Linked DNA regions of Homo sapiens: region 2 is linked to region 1. Evidence: promoter capture Hi-C in human tissues and cell types (Jung and others, 2019). All regions are on one chromosome and are shown on one strand. The core of a region is centred on a gene start or on the middle of the fragment in contact, and the rest is flanking DNA. Distances in the headings are between cores, read along the strand shown.

What was found. The method cuts DNA at HindIII sites, captures the fragments that hold promoters and counts their contacts. A contact is called where the count stands out against the background at its distance.
Region 2: a contact is called between a fragment that was not itself captured here and the fragment with the promoter of SLC8A3 in region 1, in 1 of the 25 tissues and cell types used here (ovary).

What each region holds. Positions count from the first base shown.
Region 1 is chr14:70,187,686-70,190,385 of GRCh38, forward strand. It overlaps SLC8A3 (solute carrier family 8 member A3), which reads right to left and starts at 1,266. Exons shown (of 7, transcript NM_182932.3): 1 at 694-1,266. It also overlaps the pseudogene LOC646548. RefSeq lists silencers at 701-840, 911-1,240. The HindIII fragment of the contact is 13,926 bases long and covers 1-2,700 here.
Region 2 is chr14:70,149,987-70,152,687 of GRCh38, forward strand. All of the region lies in intron 2 of SLC8A3 (solute carrier family 8 member A3), which reads right to left. Among named protein-coding and RNA genes, the nearest start is that of SLC8A3, 38 kb to the right of the region's middle. The HindIII fragment of the contact is 4,599 bases long and covers 1-2,701 here.

The sequences.
Region 1 (2,700 bases), core at 16-2,515:
TATTTCGATTCTCTCCACCGAGTCCCGGATCACGCAGACCACCAGGGGCTGGAGAGTGCAGCACTGGAGAAACCCTCCTTCTCCCTCGCCCCCTTGGCCCCAGCGGTGGGTGCTCTGGGGCTGCAGCTCCCGACCCGCGGCGGTGGAGTCCCGAGATTGGGGTGAGCGCGTGCGTGCGTATGTGCACGCGGGCGCGCGCCGAGTGGATAACGCGCTTCCCTGCTAGCCCCCAAACCCGGCGGACACTCACAGCACCAGAAGCACAACACGCCCTGGCCCAGGTGGCACACATATGCCGACATGCATCCAGCACACACAACACAGCAGTCAGTCTCCCCAAACAGCACCCGCTACCAACCCAGCATGCTCACGATCCAACTGTACCCACCTGCCCAGGCATCTCTCTCTGCCCCTCCCCACCCGGCGGCACCCTCCTGTAGACACCCACTCTGCCAGATCTGCCCCCCCAACACTGCATACACAATGTACACTTTCCGGGGCACCCTCACCCCACTTCTCCTGGCACTAAATCCACAGGAAGGCGGTTCATATGAATGATCTTGAGAAATAACTTAACCCCGTTACTCACAATCAGGGATCCTCTTAGGGGCATCCCAAGCCCCCCAACCTCTACCTCCCATGTCTCGGCTGCCCGCTAAGGGGGAAGGGCAGGAGGCTCACCCCATTACTCACCGTTTCCTCTCGGCCTCCCGAGCGGAGTGGGCAAGGGAGGGGGGTGAGGAAGGTACGCGATGCCCCCGCCGCCCGGCGCCTCACCGGTCGCAGCGGCTCATCGCCCCCGCGGGCTGCCCGCCGGCCGCAGCCGCGTCCGGGGCATGTCAGTCCGCCGCCGCCGCCCTCCCGCCGGGGTTCGTGGGCTCGCAGCTGTCAGGGAGCTGCGGGGCAGCGCATCTGGAGCGCGGGGTCTGGGAGGGAGGGTGTCTGGGGCCAGGGCGAGGGGCCCCGGGAGGGGTCCTTCCGCACGGATTTCAGAAAGAGGGAAACCCCGACCCAGAGCGGTGACTGGAATCTACGCCCGGGAGAGGCCCGGAGTCCCGGCCGCGGGCGGCGGGGGATTCCTGCAGGAAGGGGCAGGAAGGCAAGCAGCCCGGCGCGCCCTGGCGGCTCCGAGGGACCTGGGCTCGGGCTTGCGGTCGCGTCGCCTGGGCTTTCCCTGGGCTGGGAGCGCGCCGGGTCTCCGCCTTGCACGCTGTCACCGCGGGAGACGTCTCGGCCTCGCCGCGCGCAGAGGGGACGCGCGGAGAGGCTGGTTTCTGGGCGAGCGGAGAGCTTTGCCCATTAAGCTGCCGGAAGAAGCCAAATCAAAAAGCCAATCTCCAAGCCTCCAAACGGAACGTCACCCTATCAGCTGGGAGACAGCGCCGCACTGACTGACAAGCCGCGCATATTTATCCTCGCGCGCGGAGGGGAGACTCTCAGAACGCTCCTCGACCAGCAGCGAGGAAGTCGAGCCCGCATCCCGCATCCCGCATCCCGCATCCAGAGCCCCCGAGGGACGAATTCAGATCCAACCCCTGCCCCGCGGCCACCCACCCTAGTCGTTGGAGCCTGGCGCCCGCGCCTCCCGGCCGGCAGCACGTCAAAACGGCGGCGCGTCCTGACCTGGATTCCGCCGAGTTGGGAGCTCCAGGCAGCAGGCGGGCGCGCGGCACCGGCTTTCCCCTTGTCCTCAGGAGACGCTGCCTGCAATTCCGAAATTAAGTCTCCACCAAACACATCTGTGGTTTTTAAATATAGCAGGGAACTATTACCCAGGCAGGGTCCACCCAGGCCTAGGGGAGGAGTTGAGGGGGATGGAGATTGGCAGCGGAGGGAAAAGAAAACTCCTTTTTTCCCCCTCTTTTTTTCTTCTCTTCTTGGTGCAGAACCCAGCCTGTCATTTTCTCAACCCAAGTCAAACAACAGTTTGTGAGAGACGCTTGGGTGAGCTCTGGTATGTTGGCTTTTCGGGTTTCTAAAGCTAAAAATAAGAGGGGGCTGCCTCCCAAATTGCTGCTTACTCTGGGCCTGGAGGCTGGAAGAGAGCTGGTCCTTTGATGCAGCAGCGGGACTAGGGCTTGGGGCTTGGCTCAGGCGAAGTGTACACACGTAGCCTTAAATCAGATGCCTGTAATTTCTGCTATATTTGTCAGGCTTGGTCCTAGAGGCATGCGGGGTGGGCAAGCCACTCCTAAGAATGGGGTTTCAAGCCCTCAGCTTATCGGTGGCATTAGGCAGATCTAAAATGAGCCTGGTGGCTGGCCTTCTGTAGCGACACCAGTGCAGAAAAGTCAGAATGTAAGGGCAGGAAGTTGTTCTCTTTCAGGCCTCTCTGCTGCCTGAGGCTAAGTGTGAGGGGCCAACAAATGATAATAATACTTACCAAATAGCAGCACCTTTTAAGGGCCAGGAGTGGTGCTAGTGAATTTGATTGTATTACCTCATGCCATCCTACTAAAACTCTGTGAGCTAGGTACAATTACCAACTCCATTTTTTTGTTGAGGAAATTGAGCCTTAGGTTAAATAACCATCCCAAGGCCACGTGCAGCAGAGCCAAGGATTGAAATAAAATGCAACCAACCGGAGTTGTGCTGAGACGTCAACAGTGTGTGTGACTCCTGAGATCCCTGGCTCCTTTGCCCGGCTGCTCTGGAGCAAGGCTTGGTTCAAACAGATTAAGGGGGTGTAGAGACTAGGGA
Region 2 (2,701 bases), core at 202-2,701, 38 kb before region 1:
CAGTACTCTGACTTTCTATCTTTAGATCAACTGTTTCTTCCTAAAAGCTAATCCCGGGATTGGGGAGGGAATACAATTACTGCTGGGGGAACCTGAGCAAAACGCTGGCCCAGATAGGTCAAATGGCTGTGACATGTCCAGGATACTAATTACTTAACTAAAAACTAGTACATCATACCCCTGGTGAGGAATTTAGACTAGGCACTATGCTAAACGTTTTATATTGCATAATTGTATTCAATCCTCACAATAACCCTATAAGGTAGGTGCTATTATTAGCCATGTTATGTAAATGAGTAAAATGAAAGGTTAGATAACTTCCTCTAGTTCAGGTCACCAACAAGTAGCTGGGACTCCAAATCAGCCTGTCTGATAACAAGGCCACATATTTAATCATGCTGCTCTATTACCCCCTGTGTATATATGGGCTTCCACTCACATCGCTGCTTTCACACTTCTGTTATTGGTGATTTTATTGTGGCAATGATGAGGCAAACTTCTGTCTTGAACTCATCAAGACAGTGATAGGATCATCAAGCAGTGATAGGAGGGTAGGAGGCAAACCCGGACATGAACTCAATGCCTCCTACCCTCCCATCACCGCTGCTCTCCTCTTGTCACAGACAGCCATAGCTTGGCTGCCCTTAGGTTGGCCTTGACATCTTCAGCTGTGCCCCAGCCAGGCCTGCCTCTCTTTGCAGAGGAAAGCAGGTAACATGCCTGCATTTTGGGATAAGCAGGTAACACACCTGTAGCTCAGGACAAGCTTTAAGGCACCGAGGAACTCCAGAGGGAAAGGGGATTTGGAGAATAGGCCCTTTTTTGTCTCCCTAGTCACAAAATGACTCTTAACTATACAGTGGGTCCTTGTTTTCCATGGCCTAGAGTTCAGCCATCGAAAAGGTCAAAAAGCAGAAATGAGCAATGCAGTTCATGGCTGCCCCTGCCTAGGCTGGAACTTCTGGGCAGTTGTTTAAGAACTATCTGGCCAGGCGCGGTAGCTCATGCCTGTAATCCCCGCACTTTGAGAGGCTGAGGTGGGTGGATCACGAGGTCAGGAGTTCAAGACCAGCCTGGCCAACATGGTGAAACCCCACCTCTGCTAAAAGTACAAAAAATTGGCCAGGCATGGTGGCAGGTGCCTGTAATCCCAGCTACTCAGGTGGCTGAGGCAGGAGACTTGCTTGAACCTGGGAGGCAGAGGTGGCAGTGAGCCGAGATCGTGCCACTGCACTCCAGCCCAGGCGACAGTGCGAGACTCCGCCTCAAAAAAAGAAAAAAAAAAAAAAAGAACTATCAAGGAACCAGGGCTATGGAGATTGGAAGATAGAAGAGGAGGCCATTATAACAGCTGTAATGAAGTAACAAAACAGATTGGGGTATGTGGCTTAGAGAAAGTGGCCATTTATTTTTCAACCCTCATCTACTTGCAAACAGGAATTCAAAAGGTTTACAATTGGAACCCCTATATAACAAAGTTGTTGAATGAGCTCTGGCCTACTCCTGCCTTGAGAGCTGTGGGTCAGCGTCCTGAGGGCAAGTAGCACAGAGGTCGCTCTTCTATCAGTCCTTTGGACATAATTGTGAGGCCCTTGACTTGCTATGGAATGCTGGAGTAGGCATTGTGCAGGTTGTATGTATTAGTTTCCTATGGCTGCTGTGACAAATCGCCACAAACGTGGTAGCTTAAAACAGTAGAAATGTATTCTCCCCAACAGGTCTGGAGGCTAGAAGTCCAAAATCAAGGTATCAGCAGGACTGATTCCTTCTAGAGGTCCGAGAGGAGAATCTGTTCCATGCCTTCCTCCAAGCTTCTGGTGTTTCCTAGCAATCCTTGGAGTTCCTTGGGTGCCTCACTCCATTCTTTGTCTTTGTCATCACATGGCCTTCTTGTAAGGATACCAGTCATAGGATCTAGGGCCCATTCTAATCTAGTATAACCTCATCATAACTATTAATGGTTACACCTGCAAAAGCCCTATTCCCAAATAAGGTAGTATCCTGTGGTTTGGAGTAGACATACATTTGGGAGGAGGAAGGACACTATTCAACCCAGTACAGCTTGCCAATGGCATTTTGGGCAGATCTCACATAAAAGAAATGAAAGAATTTGGGTTCCTCAAAAGGAGGACTCGAGTAAACCTGGGCTACTGGTTTCCAGTGGCGTGGGCAGTGGGAAGCAACACCTCCCTGAGCAGTATTCATGTCAGACTACATTGCACAGAAATGAAGCCCAAAGGAGCAAAGAAAGTCATGCAGAGAATTAAGGCAACTTCCCCCAAAACTCAGAAAGAGCAGGCACACTTCCCACATCCCGCCAACACCTCCACCAATTCATGAGCATCTTACCAGAGAAATCTTAACCAGAGAAATTGGAGCATCTTAACAGAGAAATGTGAACATCTTACCTGAGAAATTCAAATGATGAATTTGCAGGGGAAGTGTGCCACTCTGTCAATCAATCTTATACCCTCTCCCCACAAGACAACATAGAAAACAGGCAAACAACAACAACAACAAAACAACAACAACAAGTTCAGTCTTTTTTTTTTTCCCTCTCCCTTCTAACCCCCAGGAGGGCTGGAAAGACCAAGGGATTTAGCCATGAGAAGAAAGGGGAGCTCTCTCAGCCTCCTACACACCCAAGAAAAATCCTGGGCAGACAGATCTGTATGGCAAAGAGCAGTGCAGGACCAAGAGA